Regions from separate parts of the Homo sapiens genome. Here regions 1, 2 and 3 are each linked to region 4. Evidence: promoter capture Hi-C in 16 types of primary human blood cells and fetal thymus (Javierre and others, 2016). All regions are on one chromosome and are shown on one strand. Each heading gives the region's core, a stretch centred on a gene start or on the middle of the fragment in contact. The rest is flanking DNA. Distances are from core to core; before and after follow the strand shown.

The links. Contacts are between HindIII fragments. The CHiCAGO score rates a contact against its expected background, and 5 or more counts as called.
Region 1: a fragment that was not itself captured here is called in contact with the fragment with the promoter of OR4K13 in region 4 in 2 of 17 cell types (fetal thymus and neutrophils); the score reaches 7.1 in fetal thymus.
Region 2: a fragment that was not itself captured here is called in contact with the fragment with the promoter of OR4K13 in region 4 in 5 of 17 cell types (fetal thymus, M2 macrophages, naive B cells and 2 more); the score reaches 6.3 in fetal thymus.
Region 3: a fragment that was not itself captured here is called in contact with the fragment with the promoter of OR4K13 in region 4 in 4 of 17 cell types (naive B cells, neutrophils, fetal thymus and 1 more); the score reaches 6.5 in naive B cells.

What each region holds. Positions count from the first base shown.
Region 1 is chr14:19,998,393-20,003,352 of GRCh38, forward strand. It overlaps the pseudogene OR4Q2. Among named protein-coding and RNA genes, the nearest start is that of OR4K14, 18 kb to the right of the region's middle. The HindIII fragment of the contact is 4,026 bases long and covers 1-4,011 here.
Region 2 is chr14:20,071,780-20,077,009 of GRCh38, forward strand. No RefSeq gene overlaps it. Among named protein-coding and RNA genes, the nearest start is that of OR4L1, 14 kb to the left of the region's middle. The HindIII fragment of the contact is 1,425 bases long and covers 2,373-3,797 here.
Region 3 is chr14:20,091,184-20,096,510 of GRCh38, forward strand. It overlaps the pseudogene OR4T1P. Among named protein-coding and RNA genes, the nearest start is that of OR4K17, 17 kb to the right of the region's middle. The HindIII fragment of the contact is 1,150 bases long and covers 1,569-2,718 here.
Region 4 is chr14:20,032,893-20,037,930 of GRCh38, forward strand. OR4K13 (olfactory receptor family 4 subfamily K member 13) reads right to left here and starts at 3,146. Exons shown (of 2, transcript NM_001004714.2): 1 at 3,046-3,146; 2 at 1-2,089. The coding sequence starts at 1,866. The coding sequence ends at 952. The HindIII fragment of the contact is 9,053 bases long and covers 1-5,038 here.

The DNA.
Region 1 (4,960 bases), core at 749-3,248, 36 kb before region 4:
AGCCAAAAATGAGAAACTACCCAAATATCCAGCAACAGTACAATGTATAAACAGTCGTATGCTTAAATAATGGAAGAAATAATAAAGATTGTTAGTAATAAAAATGTATAATGACACACGCAATAACTAGAATAAATTTCAGTCATAATGTCAAATCAAAGTAATCAACACACATAGAAAGGGTATATATTTTATAATCCCATTTATACAAAGTTCAAACACAGGCAAAATTAATCAAAGGCGATAGAGGTTATAAAAGAGGTTAGCTTTAGGCGTTTTGTTGGGAGGAGTGAGGAAGTCATCTGAGGCATTGTTAATGTTCTGTCTCCATCTGGTTGGAAGTTTACATAAGCAAAAATTCAATCAGCTGTAAATTTAGGTTTGCAATAAATGTTTCAAACATTTGTATTGTTTAATATTTTTGAAGTCTAGAGAACTTTCATACATTAATAAAGAAAATATGATAAACATTCAGAAATTAAAGTGATGAACATGCAATTTTTAGAATTAAAATATGTGTGACTAATAAAAATCTGAAAAGATGTTCATCCACAGTGCTGCTGAGGCAAATGCAAACTAAAATGTACTATCATTATTATACATCATATTTGAAAAATTATCATTAAAATTGAAGAATGATATTATCTAGTGTAGGAAAGAATATGAAAATAGCATCACATACATGGCTCATGGAAGTATACATTACTACAGTTTTTTGGGGGAGAAATACCTGTCCACATTTGTCTCAGAAATTTTACTTTCAGCCTCTGTCTCTTACATATACTGAATAGCAGTCTGAAGAAATATGAACAAATTGTTCACTGTAGAATCTTTTATTATAATGATAAAATAGATGATCTACAACCCCATTGATAGAATATTTTATTATAACATACCATATTTGATGGTTTTATTATCATATATCAGTTAAAAATAATTAGAACTATAGCCAGGAGTGGTGGCATGGGCCTGTAATCCCAGCTACTCAGGAGGCTGAGGCAGGAGAATTGCTTGAACCTGGGAGGTGGAGGTTGCAGTGAGCCAAGATGGGGCCACTGCACTCCAGCCTGGGGGACAGAGAAAGACTCCATCTAAAAAAAATTAGTAATAATAATTAGAGCTGAATATAGCACACGAAATCACATCCACGGTATATTACTGTATTGAGGAAAGCCTTTCTCGCTCTTTCTCTTCCCTCTCTTCCCCTCTCAGTGGTATAGAGGCAGAAAAAGAACAAAGTGGAAACTTTTATATTTACTTAAGACATTTTTGTAATATTAAACAAAATTAAATTAAATCTAACGTCAATAATTCTGATTAGAAAAGGTACTCCAGATAAAGCAGTACAAGCAAAGGTGTACTGGTAGAAGAAATGCAAGGCCCTTCAAGCCAAATTTTCCTTAATGTTTCATCACCCTTTCCACTAACCTCAGCCATGTGGGCCAGGGGGACCCTTACCTCTCTATAAAATCCAGCTGACATTATTACAACTCTCAGATCTTCTTTTCCTCTTCTATTAATTGCTTTCTACCCTCACATCCCATATATTTTTATGTTTCATAATTTCTGAAAAAGGATTGATTAAAAATTTTTAATGATTTCCTTTGTGATTTGACTGTGAGTAGCTGAATCTTGAAATCCCTAAACATCAAAATTTCGTAATGGTGGCCAGTGTAACCAGGGGTTTTCATCTTAATTCATTAATTTTCTTGGTCTATAATATCTAGGATGGTTGTATACTGTTAATGTGCCAGGAGTCCATGACTGCAGGACCTAAGAATTTACAGACAAGAAGGTATGTAATTTGACTTAAAATCTATTATACTGACAGCCTTTCTTCATGCTCCTGTCATCAGGGCCTACCTGCAGAAGTAGTATTCAATGCTAATTGTGCTCTTTTTCAATATAATATTGTCTATGCAATGTTATATTGTGTAAATCAAACAATGCATTTTTAAAAGGTTTTAAGAGTATATGGCTAGCAAAATTAACAATCTTTGCTTCTGAGAATTGGGAAGATAATTATTTTCTTCATGTTTTTCATGATTCTGAAAGTGAGATTATTTGATGTTATATCTAGACAACTTTTACTCTCAAAACAAGTTAAATGGATTATAATTAAGAGAAATTATTACCTGAAATGTTAAGTAATAATTAAGTTGCAGAAAGAGAAAAAATCCATTTTTTGGATTTTTGTATATAAGAATAAAATGTCATAAACCCTACAGATATGCATAGGAACTCTCAGTAGGTAAGAAGAAAGTCTCAATTGTTAAGGTGAATTTTTATAAATATTTTATTGCCTTTACATGTAGTCTAGTGTCTTATATAATTTAACTTTTCTGTATATATAGATTGTATCATATTTTAAGTATAGTTTTGTGTCCTGTTTTTTCTTTTATTATGTGACCATTTTCTAAAGTTAATAAATATTTTTTAAACACCAGTTCAACAAACTAATATTTAAATTTGGAAGTTTTACCTCATAGTGTCTTGATATTTTTAACTCTTACATATAATTGATGTAATCTTTATATTTACATCATTGCCTTAAATAAGGAATATGTAAATTTTATTATTTTTAAGCTAACTTTTGTTTAGTTTAAAATTATTTTTTTAATATTTTTATCCTCGTCGATTTGCCTAAATGAAAGTATACCGTTTATAGATTTAACAGTGGCATAAACTAAAATAAGGTGAATAAAATTCAATATTTAAACTATAAATTGCTATCTAACTATTATGTCTTAAGTCTTCAAAATGTTGCTCTGTGTATGGCACAACTTAACTATAGAATTTGAGTGAATAACAGCTATCACAAAACACCAAAAACACCCCTCCCCGCAGTTCTCCGTGGACCATCACCCATTTCAACTCATACAGTAGCATGTTCCAGCTATTGTTTATGTAAATGGAAAAAATATACACAACATACAAATTGCTATTTTTATCTCAGAGAAATAGTTGATTTTTATTTGATTTGATAGACTAGTCAAAGGAGAGTCATTTCAATGCATGAATAACCATTTTATAATTATATTTAGATCATTATAAGCATAATGTGTACCTATATGCCCACAGGTATGATTTAAGATAAGAAATATATCATTTACAATAATAAACTGGAAATAAGTGTATTATAGAATATGGTAAGCTGAAGAGGCATATCAAAGAAAATATACTAAGAGGTCATTGAACTAGCAATAATCCCAAGTGGAATGTGATCTTTCCTGTAGCTATGTGCACAGGTTAGAGTCCTACAAGAGTTTTCTTGATGGCAAAGGGTACAGGGATTCCCTTTTCTCAAATAAAAGCTCTACAGATCTAATGTCCATTTACTGGAATCTGAAATTCTACCTTTGATTTTATTTTTTCCCCAAATATTCTTATTAAAAAAAAATTTCAGAAAAATATAACATTTCTTGAGACTGAATGTGGAAAAGGAGAGAGAAGTAATGTGTTGAATGTTGGAAGACAGAAATGCATCATGTGGAAGTTAGTAGCTTGGAGCCAGGTAACTTCATGTTCTAATCAACCTTGGCCATGTCATCAGTGTCTTGAGGTTGCAGCTGGTGAAATAATATACATTTATATTAGGTAAGGAGAAAATAATTTCTTCCAGCTAATTAATCAGGATGTATCTTAGAGGATGAAAAATCTCTCTTTTGAAATGAGCAGAGTCTTGTATTTGATATGAATTACCTCATTCATTTTAAATGTCACTAATGCCCTATTGTTTAATCTCTTTGATCTAGGTAGAGCCAGATCAAATGGATAAAAACCAAACAGAAGTGATGAGAGAATTTTTCTTGTCAGGGTTCTCACAGACACCATCTATTGAAGCAGGGCTATTTGTACTATTTCTTTTCTTCTATATGTCCATTTGGGTTGGCAATGTCCTCATCATGGTCACAGTAGCATCTGATAAATACCTGAATTCATCACCCATGTATTTCCTTCTTGGCAACCTCTCATTTCTGGACCTATGTTATTCAACAGTAACGACCCCTAAGCTTCTGGCTGACTTCTTTAATCATGAAAAACTCATTTCCTATGACCAATGCATTGTGCAACTCTTCTTCCTGCATTTTGTAGGGGCAGCTGAGATGTTCCTGCTCACAGTGATGGCGTACGATCGCTATGTTGCAATCTGTCGCCCGCTGCACTACACCACTGTCATGAGTCGGGGGTTATGCTGTGTGTTGGTTGCTGCCTCCTGGATGGGAGGATTTGTGCACTCCACTGTCCAGACCATTCTCACTGTCCATCTACCCTTTTGTGGGCCAAATCAGGTGGAAAACTTTTTTTTGTGATGTTCCCCCTGTCATCAAACTTGCTTGTGCTGACACTTTTGTCATTGAATTGCTCATGGTATCTAACAGTGGGTTGATCTCCACCATCTCCTTTGTGGTGCTGATTTCCTCCTACACCACTATCCTAGTCAAGATTCGCTCCAAGGAAGGAAGGCGAAAGGCACTCTCCACGTGTGCCTCTCACCTCATGGTGGTAACACTGTTTTTTGGACCCTGTATTTTCATCTACGCTCGTCCTTTCTCTACATTTTCTGTGGACAAGATGGTGTCTGTACTCTACAATGTTATTACCCCAATGCTAAACCCCCTCATCTACACACTTCGGAACAAAGAGGTAAAGTCAGCCATGCAGAAGCTCTGGGTCAGAAATGGGCTTACTTGGAAAAAGCAGGAGACATGAGACATTGATATGAATTTTTGAAAGTAGAAAATCTGAGGTTAAAATAATAACTTTTCAAATAATGAGTTAGAAGGTGGTTGCCTAGTTTTTAAATTTATTTCATTAAATCAAAATAGCCCTATTATTGACTTTATCATTCAACTGTACACTATAACTAATCTGTTTACTTTTTTATTCAATCAAATCTGATTTTTCTATCAGATTGTCTTTTTCCTCTTATGTATTCACCTCATCAAATTTTATTCCA
Region 2 (5,230 bases), core at 1,835-4,334, 39 kb after region 4:
TCCAGTGTAATAACATGAATTTCTAAAAGTGATAAAGCTTTCCTGTCAGTATAGAAAAAGAGAGTCATGGCAGAAGAGAAGGCCTTTTTTTTTTTTTTTTTTTTTGAGACAGAGTCTTGGCAGTGGCACGATCTTGGCTCACTGCAACCTCCACCTCCCAGGTTCAAGCACCTGCCTCAGCCTCCTGAGTAGCTGGGATTACAGGCGCCCACCACCACATGGGCTAATTTTTTGTATTTTTAGTAGAAACGGGGTTTCACCGTGTTAGCCAGAATGGTCTCAATCTCCTGGCCTCCTGATCCACCCGCCTCAGCCTCCCAAAGTGCTGGGATTATAGGCACGAGCCACCGTGCCCGGCTGGGGATGAGCCTTTCAAAGGGTCCCGTCCACTGTTAATGGCTTAAAAGAGGAAGGGGATCATGACAAAGGAAGATCAGATAGTATCTAAATATTAAGGATAACCCTTGAATGGCAACCAGCAAAGAAATGGAGATGTCAGTCCTACAATCACACAGAGTGAAATCCTGCCCACAACCTGTCCACAGTCCTGGAAATGAATTCCCCCAAAGTCTCTAGAAAAAAATTTAATCCTGTTGATGCCTTGATTTTAGCCTAGTGAGATTCATATTTAACTTCAACCTACTGGACTGTAAAATGATGAATTTGTGTTGCTTGAAGCAAATAAATTTGTATAATTTGCTAGGAAAGAAATAGAAAACTAACACGACCCCACACTTGGCCTGTGGTGAGAGTGCCTCTTCTCTTGTTCCTACAGCTTAGATGTGATAGTGGCTTCCATTTGATAGTCATCTTTGGTTTCTCTGAACATATCCTGTTCAACATCTTAGCTATTCCATCGCTTGAGTAGCTAAATAACCTGTTTGAAATACTCAGAGTTATTTTTCTTTTCTCAATTAGACCCCAGAAATTACAGAGTTGGGCAGAGGCAAAGGGCATAACTCTCTACTGAGTCAGCTCCAATACAAATTTCATCAAAGAGCTACCCAATAATATAGGGGTTTTTTTGGAATTTGCTCCTTCTAAGTTTAAGGTAGACTGTATAGTATACTCTAACTGAATTTAGGTGTCTCTTACCAAGGAAGAATAAGAGAATGACCTTTCAGAGGACACTACTAGTCTCTGGGACACAGTTAATGCTCATTGCTAAACTAGTCTCTGGTGAGTGAAGTGAAAGCACTTTGATTGTCCTAGACAGATGTCTTATGAAAAAGATTTGATCCTCCATGGAAGCACATAGTCAGCCTATCCCAGAGAATATATGGTTTCAATTACCAAGAAAGAAGAAAGAATCATTACTGGGAAACCAACGAGTTCTACCATAGCCAGTTATCACCATTGGTATTCAATATTGCTCAAAAATTTCAAGTTAATGAAATAAGGTAATAAAATAATAGTAGAGAAATATTTTAATGTGAATATTATCTATCTTATCAATAATACAAAAAATAGAAGAGAACCAATTAGAAAAATATTGAACATGAGATTTGATTCCATTTACCACTTAAATATATATATATATAAAACATTTACAGATAACAATAGCAATAAGATGAATTAATATAAAGAGAAAAATCATATTAAGTATAGCATCAAAGTAGGAAATACGCAAATTTTATTTAACCACAAATATGTTACAAAAACATTGCTGACAAAATGAAGATGACAAAACTTTTCTGTGAGCCATAAAAGAAGACAAAAATTTTAAGAACACAAAAACAATGACAAAAATGAATAGATCTAAAAAGTAGCCAGACTTATCTCCAATTTAAATAAATATAAAGGGAGCATTATCCGTTTTCTTTCTTTTTTATTTATTTATTTATTTTTTTTGACAGAGTTTCACTCTTGTTGCCCAGGCTGGAGTGTAATGGTGCAATGGTGCCATCTCAGCTTACTGCAACCTCTGCCTCCCGGGTTCAAGCGATTCTCCTGCCTTGGCCTCCCCAGTAGCTGGGATTACAGGTACCTGCCACCACGCCTGGCTAATTTTTTGTATTTTGAGTTGAGATGGGGTTTCACCATGTTGGCCAGGCTGGTCTCGAACTCCACATGCCTCAGCCTCCTAAAGTGCTGGGATTACAGGCATGAGCCACCGCACCTGGCCAGAGCATTATACATTCTTAATAAAATGAATTATTTAATTGTAATAATAAAAACTCATATCCTATCATTTATTAATTTCAGACAAGTTAGAATTAAACGTGAAAAATTTATCATAATAAATTTTATAATTAATGTAATCTAGAATGAGTGACATCGCCAAGATGAAGGAGTAGGAGATACCAGTATTTATCCTCCCCACAGAAAAACAAACATAGACAGCTATGCACAAACCAAAATAGTTCTGAGAAAGCTTAAGGGCCCACTAAATAATCTACAGAAATATAATGGAGCAAAAAGTCAAGAATATCCTCACAGAAAAGATTTCTGGTGAGATCAGCAAACTTAAGACATGAAGAGATGGCAAAGGACAAAAAAAAGGCAGAGGTTATCACTGTCAGCCATGCAGCAAGAACTATGGTCCCAAAGGCCTTCTCTTCAGAAAACATTGGCATCTTTTGCCACTGAGGCAACCAACAGCCATTCTTGCTGGGAAACTCTAAAGAGTTAGATGCAGCCACACACCTTAACCCCCTCAAGACACAGTCATTGTTGTGCCCCTTCAGATGGGACTCATCATCTCTCCCTATATCCTGTCAATACTGTGCATACCTATGCTTCTGTTCTTTGTACCTTGTTTGCTTCACAAGCACCTGTGCCTTACATGTTGTTATGAACATGACAATGAGGGCATGTGCACCCTGGGTACCACTGCCTATACCACCCTACACCCCAGAGCCATAGTCCCTCTACATGTGCTCATGCTTCAGGCCTCAGCTCCACAGTCACTTCATGGTTAGCACTCATCAGAAACTGGTGCCACTGTCCCTGGAGTGGGCCCACAAATTGGACACAGTGTCAAGGGGGATCCCTTCAGCCACAACTTTCCCAGTAGGAGATACAGACATTGGAAGGACCTTAGCAGCAATTGCCAATGAAGACCACATCAGTCATTCAATGGTACTGTGAACATGTACAGTATTGCCTGTCAAGAATCCTTGTGATCTTCATTAATACTGACCACAACTAATAGAGATGCCCTGGAATTCACAGCTGCTTCTTCACTGGTGTTAGAACCAGTGCCCTTGCACCCTTCTCTTCATAGGGGAAGGTTTTTCCACACCAAAATGAACTCATAAAGTCAAAAAGAGGTGACTGTTTTACCAAATGTGTAGACCTCAATGCAAGGCATCAATAAACATAAAAAGCCAAGGAGACATATAACCACCAAAAAAGAAATTCAATAATTTTCCTGGAGCTGATGCCCCAAAATGGGGATATATGAATGGCTTGACAAAGATTTTATAATTGTATTTATGAGGGAGCTAAGAGAATGTCAAGAAAATACAGAGGAAAGTTGATTAAAAATCAGGAAACAAACAAAATTAGAAACTTAACTGAGAGATTAAAAATACAAAAAAAAAAACCTAGAAATTCTGAAGCCAAAAAATATAGCTAATGAATGTAAAATGCAACAGAGAACATTAAGAGCAGAGTTAAGCAAAATAATCTATGAACCTGAAGATAGTGTATTTGAAAATATATAGTCAGAAGAGACAAAATTTCAAAAATCAAAAAATAAAGAAAGGTTATGGGATTTAAGGGATCACATCAAGAAGGCAACTATTTGAATTGTAGGAGATAAAGAAGGAGAAAAGAGTGGCAAAGGGACAGAAAGCTTATTTGAAGAAATAGTACCTAAAAGCTTTCCAAATCTAGGGAAAATAGAAGCATTCAGGTTTGGATACTCAAATGTCTTCCAAAACATTCAGTCCAAAACGAGACTATACCAAGACATGTTATAATCAAACTTTCAAAAACGAATTATGAAGAGACAATCCTGAAAGCAACAAGAGAAAACAAACATATCACACGTAAGGAAGTTTCAGTGAGGCTAACAGATTTCTCTGCAGATACCTTGTAGGCCAGAAGAGAATAGGATGATATATTTAAAGTGCTGAATGAAAGAAACTTTCAAATGAAGAATAGTTCACCCAGCAAAACTTTCCCTCAGACACGAAGAAGAGATAAAGACTATCCCAGAAAAACAAGAGCTAAGGAATTTCATTACCACCAAATCTTTTTTATAAGAAACATGAATGGGAGTTCTTTGAGCATAAGAAAGGACAGCTTTTAGTAACATGAAAACATATTAAAGAAGAAACCTCATTGTTAAAACTAGGTACACAGTCAAATTTAGAACTCTAACACTGTAATGCTAGTGTGTAAATCACTTATTTAGTATGAAGGTTAAAAGATTTAAAAAATCAAAATAATACGTACAATAATTTTTAAGGCATATACATACAAAATATGTAAACTGTGACATCAGAAACAGAAAATGTGTTGTGGAGAGGAAGAGTAAAATTGTAGAGGTTCTTTATGCAAACAAAGTACAATTGTTAGCGTAAAATAGGCCATTATAACTATAAGATGTTTTATGTAAGCCTTATGGTTACCACAAAACAAAAACTCTTAATAGATACACACACGCAAAAAAGTAAGGATTCAAAGCATATCACTATGCTTTATATATATAATAGATCTTATATATTGTATTATGTCTTAATATATGTCATAGTATATAAAATCTTACATTATATATATATTACATATATTATGCACATATTTATATATATAGAGAGAAATCTAATTATAAATAAAGACAGCAAGGGAGGAAAAAAAGGAAAATAAGATCAACAAAATAACCAGAAAATGATGAACAAAACGGCAATAATACATCCTTATTTATTCATATTAACCATAAATTTAAATAAATAAAATTCTTTAATCAAAAGACAAAGTAGCAGAATGGATTTAAAAAACAAACTAGTCCCAACTATTTGTTGCCTACAAGATATTGACTTCAACTTTAAGAACACACATAGACTGAAAACAAAGGAATTGGAAAAGATATTCTATGCCAATGCAAATCAAAGAGAGAAGGAGTAGCTATTCTTACATGATGTAAGATAGCCTTTTAGTCAAAAACTATAAAATGAGACAAAATCTGTGTAATGATAAAGATATCAGTGTACCCAGAAGACATAAGAACTGTAAGTATATATGCACCCATTAGCAGAGCACCTAAACATATAAAGCAAATATT
Region 3 (5,327 bases), core at 894-3,393, 57 kb after region 4:
TTTTAAAATATTTAATCTTTGGCCATGTACACAAATTGTCATAATGAATGATTTTATCCATAACAATGTATTTTAATCCATTTAAATATAGACTTAGCTGGATATTTTTAAAAATATGCTTACAAAAATTCAAAAAAGCCTAAACAGTAATAAATATAATTTTATGGTCTTAATTTTCTTATTTTACATATTAAACTAAAAAAAATTACTGTGTGAGACTCCTCAAGAATTTCTCCTGTTAGTATTTGGAGATTAAAGGTGCATAATTTTGAAAAACAATTTCATACCTACTATGCAGATTCAATTACTGCCTGAAAGCAGATGCTAAAGATGATAATTTTAATCTTTTATAAAGTAGTCAACTACACAGTTCTACCAATTATATTTAATAGAGAAAAATAATTTCATTGACACTAAGTCTTCTTTACCATTCTTCCAAAGTAAAGTTCTGTGGTCCATATTGGTTTGGGTAACTTTATAGTTACCAGAAAATGGGGTAATTCTAAAGAATAGAATTTCATTAATGAACATGCATAGCACCTGTATGTATACGATTAAATGCATAAATATATTTCATATATGTTACCCTTTAGAACCTCCTACCAATCTGTGAGGTTAAAGATTGGGTATTATTTTATTTTTACAGGAAAAAATCCATGTTCAAAAGAGTTAGGAGTGTATTTCCCTATTAAATGCTGAGGCCAGGACTAGAATTTAAATGTTGGCATTTCAGGTTTTCCTTTTAACTTAGATATTTAAGCCAAATAATGTATTCTGAATATCTGATGAGCTATTAAGCCATGAAATTGAAATATAGAATAGATTTTCTTTTTTCTCTTCTGGTGCTCCAGAACTAGAATGTGGTATAAATATGTTCATTTGCATCTGTGTACGTCTCTTTTCTCTCTCTCTCTCTCCCCCTCTCTCTATGTGTGTGTGTGTATGTATGTGATGTTTACTAATAATTGTCATAAAAATAAAAGAGAAGGAAAAGGAAGCTAGGATTAAATTTCTGAATCAAATCTAAACGGAAGATATTAGGTTGGTGCAAAACCGCAATTACTTTTGCACCAACCTAGTGGAAGTGAGCCGAAAGTGTCAGCTCAATGTGGGAAGACATATAGAATACAAGTGTCAAGGATGTAAGAGCCAGTAAAATAGTCAGGAGGCAGTTTGCATGTGTGTGAAATATCAGAGGAAAGCACTGGGTACAGGAAGATATGCATTTAAAAGCCAAGGAAACACAAACATAAAGGATTGTTGGTTGCTCAGAGACTGTCTACAAAACACAGATTGCAAAGGGACAAGAAAGAAAGCACTCCAGCCAGGAGCCCAACAACATGAGATTCAGGAAAATAAGCAAGAGGTCTGCACAGTAATGGTAGGAGTTTTGTACAGTAACCAAATTATGACACAAAATACTACACTAAAAGAAAAAAAAATACATCTGGACCCTGGGAAACATTTTTGATTTTATCTAGAAACTTTCTAGAAAGTTAACATTTTAAAATAATTATAAAAGCATGGGGTGAACAGTAAGAACATATGCCAGACTGCAGCCAGCTTAAAGCTTCAGAAATAAGTGAAATCATTGGTATATCATTTGGGGATAAAAGAGAGAGGTAAGAGTATAGTATAGCAGATAGAAGAAAGTGCCATAAAATAATGTGTTAAACTGGGTGTATTAGTAAACTCACTTGCACATGTATGAATGCTTCAAATTAGAGAGAGGGAAAAGAATGAATACTAGGCACCAAAAAGCTAAGCAACTTTGCTCTTATCCACTCTTGGACTAACTCATTTGGCTAATAGTTATTTGACTAATTTTACTCATGGACCTATTGAACTCATGCATCAAGAACTCATGAACTCATCATAGAGACAATAAATGCACGTGGAGACAAAAATCTATGTCTGCAAACCATAATTACAGAATTTTATAATATATTTCTCATCTTTTGTGCCTTTCTGATTGAAGAAAATACAATAATGTCAATGACACTTGAATTAATTAAATTGTATTTTTCATATATGTTCATCTTCTCTCTTTCTGTAGGAATCAAATACTTTCTATATGTCCATATCTTCAAAATGGTCACAGGTAAAATTATAACTTTTTTCAGACTATCTTTATTTCAAATAGCTTTTGAAAACTACCAGATGGATATAAGAAACAGCTCAATAATAATCTGAGTTTGTTTTGTTAGAATTCATCAGCACTTGGGAACTTGAAATTTTGTTTCTTAAATATTTTTGTTGGCCTATGCAGCAATCATGGCAGGAAACCTCACTGCAATCGCTGTAACCTCCAATCCTCCCCTTTGCTCAACACCTATGTACTTCCTCCTTGGAAATCTCTCCTTTCTCAGTATGTTTATTTCCACAGTCACAATCTCTAAGATGGTCCAGACGTTCTCAGGGAGAATAAAACCACTTCCTCATGGGGCTGTATGGCTCAGATCTCCACTTCTTAGGAGGCAGTGAGATGACTCTTCTCATATTTATGGCTGTTGATCAGCACATTGCAATATGCAGACCTCTTCACTGCAGAACCATCACGAACTGCAGGGTACTCATGGCCACTCATGGGCTCTGTGCTGCTATCACGGGCTGTTGGTTTTGTGCATACTATAAGCCAGATTGTTTTTATTATCACCTTGCCCTTCTGTGGCCCCAGTGTGGTGGACAATTTATTTTGAGACCTTCCTCTAGTTCTGAAGCTTGCCTGCACTGAGACTTATGATCTGGAGTTGCTGGTAATTGCTAAAAGTGGACAGTTGTCTTTCATCTGCTTCATAGTCTTGCTCATTTTCTACACTATTATTCTGGTAACTGTGCAGCATCGATCCTCTGATGCACTCTCCAAGGCTCTGTCCACACTGTCTGCTCATATCACTGCAGTCACTCTATTTTTATGAGCCATGTGTCTACATTTACACTTGGCCATTTAGGAGCTTTTCAGTGGATACATTTCTTTCTGTGTTTTATTCAGTTACACCCTTACTGAACCCCATTACTTACAGTCTGAGATGAAAGCATCTATACATCAACTGAGGACCCAACACATCATCTCCAGACAAACCTTCTCTAATCAGCAATCATGAGGACAGGATATTAGTTCAGAACCCATATAAATTACGTTTCAGAATATGTTGATATTAATTTTATTTGTTGATTTCTATAAATAATATTGCATATATTGAAATTATCAAATATAATTTTTCATTATTATATTTCTATGGCATGTGTGGTTTTGTTGAAAATATAATTATCAGCCTGGGAACTCCATTACTGGGTATATACCCAAAGGAATATAAGCCATTCTATTATAAAGATACATGCATGCATATGTTCATTGCAGCACTATTGACAATAACAAAGACATGGAGTCAACCTAATTTCCCATCAATGAGAGACTGGGATTTAAAAAATGTGGTATATATACACCATAGGATACTATAGAGCCATAAAAAAGCAATGAGATCATGTCCTTTGTAAGGACATGGATGGAGATGGAGGCCATTATCCTTAGCAAACTAACACAGGAACAGAAAACCAAACACTGCATGTTCTCACTTAAAAGCAAAAGAGAACACATGGACACATAGAGGGGAACAACACACACTGGGCCTTTTGGAGGGTGGAGGGTGGGAGGAGGGAGAAAATCAGGAAACAAAACTAATGAGTACTAGGCTTAATACCTGAGTGATGGAATAATCTGTACAACAAACCCCCATGACATAAGTTCACCTATGAAACAAACCTGCACTTGTACCCCGACCTTAAAATATTTTTGAAAAAAAAAGCATAGTTATTTTCATTAACTTTCAATTCAAATTTGGGTTAATAAATTACTTTCAAAATATAATAAAAAGTTAACTAGAAAAACTGGCTTCTTAACTATATTTAGAGACTCCATGTATCTAAGACTTTCCTTAAATAAGAGAAATCAAATATAAATTTGTCTACTTTTAACTAGTAATCTTTCAGCCAAATTCTCTAAATGACCAAATGTAAACAAAGTTGTGTGAACTCTTATAAACCCACAAGCATGAACACACACACTTACATTTTTGTGCCCCTAATATGTGAAAGGATTATTATTTTTTAACAAGGCAGACAGGCTAGTTTTTATGAGTATATAGATGCATATAGTTACTGTAATCCACTGACATGAAGCATACACTTCTTCACTCTAAAGAGAAATTTCACCTGACAAAAAATTACACATAGAACATTTTAATCTTTCATGTTTTTGTTCATATTTTCTCTCATATATCTCTCCAGAAACAAGTAAGAACATTATTATTCTGCCAATTCACATGAGTAAAGAATAAATTAAGAAGCCTATATATTTTCCAGGCATTCCCTTCACAACAAAACAAAGTTTTCAATCTGATTAAGTTGCATAAAGAAAGCTTTAAAGTGTACTAAATTATAAAGTTAGATCTACGGTCCATGGACATTAGAATAAATACACATTCTATGACCTGTTTGGCATCAAATTCAAAATGCTCTGCTTTTACCCAAACATCTACTGACCCCTTAGAGGATTCTACCCGGTATTTCCTCACTGTCTCCTAAGTAATATGTATGCTATGTTAACTAGAGCTAAAAGGTGCCTTAAAGATGTATTCATAGCCATATGTGTATGGTATATTTTAAATTAAATGTTTTTTAAAAAATCATTGAGACACATTGGTACTGGGTCCCTTGGAATCACTGGACATATTTATATCTATTTCTTATCAACTATTTAAATTATAAGGTTAAATGTAGATACTGACATAACACATAATTTTTTGAATTTTTAAACATTTTGACACATTTGTATCAGATTCTCTTTTACCACCAAAGTGGATTATTAGAGATAATAAAGAACCTAAGCAACCCTCCATATTCAATTATTTTATCTTGGCAAAGATAACCACTATCATCAGCTCCATGGCATCATTTACTTTTATGTTTTTAAAATTATTATTATTTTGAGACGGAGTCTGGCTCTGTCGCCAAGGCTAGAGTGCAGTGGCACAATCTCGACTCACTGCAACCTCAGCCTGCCAGATTCAAGCAATTCTCCTGTCTCAGCCTCTCGAGTAGCTGGGATTACAGGCATGCACCACCACACCCAGCTAATTTTTGTATTTTTAGTAGAGACAAGGTTTCACCATGTTGGCCAGGCTTGTCTTGAACTCCTGACCTCAAATGATCCGCCTGCCTCTGCCTCCCAAAATGCTGAAATTACAGGTGTGAGCCACCACGACCAGCCTAAAATTATTTTTCTGATGTATGCATGCATTGTGCATAAAATGTTATGTCACATATTT
Region 4 (5,038 bases), core at 1,896-4,395:
GCCCATGACCCAGCTCAATGAAATTATGTATAGGTTCTCCACTGTGTCATGCTTCTATGCATTCTCAACATACTATTTCTTTCTCGTGGAATGTCTTTCTTTTCCATCTAGCTGATGCTAACTATAAGTGGAAACCTTCCTGCCCTGCCCTGATTGAGATGCCATTCCTGCACTCTCAAAGCACCCTGTCCATCATGTAACAGTGCTGTTCGTGCCATGGAACAACTGCCAATTTAGTTTGCTCGATCTATCCATAGGCTGTAAGTTCCTTGAAGGCCTGGCTATATCTTCTGGCATTCTGTAGGCTCACAAAATATGTGAAGAATGGTGAACACACTGTGTTTATGGAAAACAACTTAGTATAATTTAATACACACTAATCAGGGATTACCCAGAACATGCAGTTTTCTAGCCTGTAAGGCACTTGGATAAATAACCGTGATGAGATGTCATCTGTGTGCTTTCTCTAAACATAGATTACCAATAACAACAACAAAAAACCTAACAATAATAATGTGTTTTCTGAGGTTTAAGAGCATGCTAAAATAATAATGAAAGATGCATATAAACAAGGTTGTATAGACGAAAAAACTAAATCACAGGGAACTTATTTATTTTCTTCAAATTTGCACCAGAGAAACTGATAAAGGTGGGATTTAAATGTATACAAGCCAAACTGTAGATATTATGTGTTTGACCATAAAAGATCACAAAAAGGTGTTTGCTTTTTAACAATTACATCTACTATTTCCTCATATGGAACTTGAACTGTTAGCTGGTACACAAGTTATAGTGGTTTTTGCCATTACTTTAATTTTGTCATTTACTTTAATGGCAAAAACCGCAATGACTTTTGCACGAACCTGATACATTAAAAACGAGTTTCTTAAATGTTCAAACAAACAAGAGAGTGTCTCTTCAAAAGTCTCATCTAAAAAGTATGCTTTAAATTTATATGCAGAGTCTTTTTTTAATGGCTGCTTTTACCTCTTGATTTCTTAATGTATAAATAATAGGATTTAAGAGAGGTGTGAAAATTGTGTAAAACACAGAAAGAATTTTATCTACCGAGTATCTGCTGAAGGGCCAGACGTAGATAAAGACACACGGAGCAAAGAACAGAGTCACAACTGTGATGTGAGCTGAGAGAGTGGAGAAAGCCTTAGAGGATCGACTAGCAGCACGGTACCTAACTGAGAATATTATGACTCCATAGGAGACAAGCAAGAGGAGGAAGCAGACCAGTGACAGGAGCCCACTGTCAGCAATGACCAGGAGCTGTAGGATGTAGGTGTCCTTGCAGGCAAGTTTAATCACAAGGGGAAGGTCACAGAAAAAGCTGTCTATAACATTGGGACCACAGAAGGGCAAAGTCAACATGAAAGCCATTTGACTAGATGAGTGCACAAATCCAACTGCATAGGAGGATAACAGTAGCCCAGTGAGCACCCGTGGGCTCATGATGGTCATGTAATGGAGGGGTTTGCATATGGCAACATACCTGTCTATTGCCATGGCTACAAGCAACATCATCTCACTCCCACCCAGGAGGTGCATAAAGAACATCTGGGAATAACATCCCCACCATGAGATGGTCTTACGTTCTCGGAGGAAATCTACAATCATCTTAGGGGTAGCAAAAGAAGCCAGGATCATATCAATGCAGGAGAGGTTGCTAAGCAGAAAATACATTGGTGTGTGAAGGAGCGAATCAAAGGTCACAGTCACCAAGATGAGCAGGTTTCCTAACACAATCCCCACGAAGACCACAGAGAATCCCAAGAAGAATAAAATCTGAAGATTTTGAGATTTGGAAAGTCCCAACAAAATAAATTCCGATACCACTGAATGGTTTGCTCTTTCCATATCGTCAACTTTATCCCATAATGATCAAAATAAGTGAGAATAAGGGGTAGGGAAATGATGCATATTGGAAAGAAATGTTCATGTTGATGTCCACATTTGGTACTCAGTCAAGGCACTTGAACTTACAAGGACCCTTACTTTTGTGGAATTTTGTCAGTCAGTGATTTTACTAATGGCCCAGAGAAGTATCCCAAATAGTCAGTAGAATTCAGAATATAAGTTTCTGGAAGACAAAAATAAAAACATTAATAGTACATGAAACCACAAAACTATAGGTCATGAATTAGAATCAGAAGACCTCTACAGGACACCTGGGTAAGCTGCTCACTGGGTGACACAGGACAAGTAACTCTCCTTTTGAGGGTTTTCTTCTCAGTGAAAAAAAGAATTTGGACTATATGGTATCGAATGCCTCTTTCTGCTATAAAGATCTCTATGAATAAGATAATGATTCTGGTGAGTTTTATAGTCACAGAATAATATTGAGTTTTATTAATGTGGAAAGGATATCAAAAATACATCCAGGATTCTCAAGAACCATGTTTTGAAATGGACTCTGGTAAAGAAATATGAATTAGGTCCTGAGAAACTTACCTTATTTCCTCCATGCTCCATTCTTGCATGAATCCCTCACAGATCAGTATTAGCAGTAGTCACTACACACTTTTGAAGTGTCAAGTATATGTATAGTATATATATATTAAACATGTATATTACATACATTTCATATATTTATATATATTTATATAATTCGTTCATTCAACATTTCATATTATTCACATCAAATACCTCCTCTAGATGGTTAGACAATGTGTACAAACAACCCACAGTCAAATGTAATTGACTAATTTCACTTTCAGCTTGCATTCATTTATTCATTTACCTGGTTATTGCTATGTAGTGGTTAGCTGGTTGGCCTGTGTATGGTTGTCATAGGTTTCAAAATGACTTAGCTTGATGTAACATTTATGTTGGTAAAAGAAATACAGTTCTTTCAGTATAATCTAAATTTATGACAAAATTTGTCATCGGCTCATGCTTATTACAAACTGGTTCTATTGGTTCAGCTTTTAAAAAAATTGCCTCCGTTGCTAATAGTTTTAAATTAATCTAGGTCTTACAAAACACCTTCAGTAAATAAAGTATTTGTAGTCATCTTTTTGTGCTGTTATTACTTACAAGACAGGGGAAAAAAACTTTCGTGATGGCGTCGTACGTGAATCCCAGGAATGGCCTTTTATCTCCTTTTCCTGTATCCCCATCAGTTATCTGCAATTTACTCTTCCAATCATCAGAAACAGAAAAAATAGAGACCATAGTGCTATATGTTTCTATGAGATAATCCCATAGGAACACTTATCCAACTAGGGATGTATTTTTTTCCCTATGTAAACATATCTGTTGGCCAATTTCCCACTCTGAGAAACTTTGATGCAAAATATTAAATTTCATCAAATATGTAATTAGAGCCATTCATTTATATGTCTATAAAGGTAATAGCTCTCTTCAGTTTTATGACTAATATTTAAGAATTCCTACTAATGCTTCTTTTTGAAACCCAATTTTTGAAGCTGCATTTAAACAGAAGAGAACAATTTTCAAATACATACAAAGAAGTTTATAAATCCTCCACATCTGGAATAGTGCATATCAAAAACACTAAGTGAATATCTGTTGAATGAATAAACTATGTAGTGCATATTCAGGATCTAGATTAAGTCAGCTGACTTAATCCACAGAAAAATCCACAACATTAGGAATTTTAACAATATTTATTTTTAAATGTCAAATTGAATGTTGAAGTATTTTAAAATCAGAAATAGAACAGCCATTCTTAAAAAGCTGGTTAAAATATGTTTTTTTCTTTTAATTATCTTTTAAAAAAAAAGGTAGTTTATGCCAATGTGAAAAAAGCACATCACAGATAACAGAAAGACTGACTGAACATTTTAAGAGCTTCTTAGATAACTTTCCAGAAAAATAATACACACTTCAGTACAGTGTGTGTGTGTTAGTGTTACAGGTATTTATATTTATATCATTTTATTAAGACTGCAGATTATATATTATATGTATAGCTATTTTTCTTGAGTTTTTAACTTATTACATTTAAATATGTTTATATTAACATATAGAAACATAACTTTTTAATAGGTGTATAGAATTCCACTTTGTAGATGTTGCATAATGTAATCTCCCCACAAATACAGTTTATTCTTAGAATGAATTTAACATTACCTATAAAAATTATTTTTCATCATATCACTCTCTTCTTTATAAACCTGTGATAACTACCTTATCAATCCCTAACTTCTCCTGGATATTCATAATCAACTCCTCACCCACCCTAAAAATCCAATATTATTTTCTTTTTTTTTCTTTTTTTTTTTTTAATTATTATACTTTAAGATTTAGGGTACATGTGCACAATGTGCAGGTTAGTTACATATGTATACAAGTGCCCTGCTGGTGTGCTGTACCCACTAACTCGTCATCTAGCATTAGGTATCTCTCCCAATGCTATCCCTCCCCCCTTCCCCCACCCCACAACAGTCCCCAGAGTGTGACATTCCCCTTCCTGTGTCCATGTGTTCTCATTGTTCAATTCCCACCTATGAGTGAGAATATGCGGTGTTTGGTTTTTTGTTCTTGCGATAATTTACTGAGAATGATGATTTCCAATTTCATCCATGTCCCTACAAAGGACATGAACTCATCATTTTTTATGGCTGCATAGTATTCCATGGTGTATATGTGCCACATTTTCTTAATCCAGTCTATCATTGTTGGACATTTGGGTTGGTTCCAAGTCTTTGCTATTGTGAATAATGCCGCAATAAACATACGTGTGCATGTGTCTTTCTAGTAGCATGATTTATAGTCCTTTGGGTATAAACCCAGTAATGGGATGGCTGGGTCAAATGGTATTTCTAGTTCTAGATCCCTGAGGAATCGCCACACTGACTTCCACAATGGTTGAACTAGTTTACAGTCCCACCAACAGTGTAAAAGTATTCCTATTTCTCCAGATCCTCTCCAGCACCTGTTGTTTCCTGATTTTTTAATGATTGCCATTCTAACTGGTGTGAGGTGATATCTCATTGTGGTTTTGATTTGCATTTGTCTGATGGCCAGAGATGGTGAGCATTTTTTCATGTGTTTTTTGGCTGCA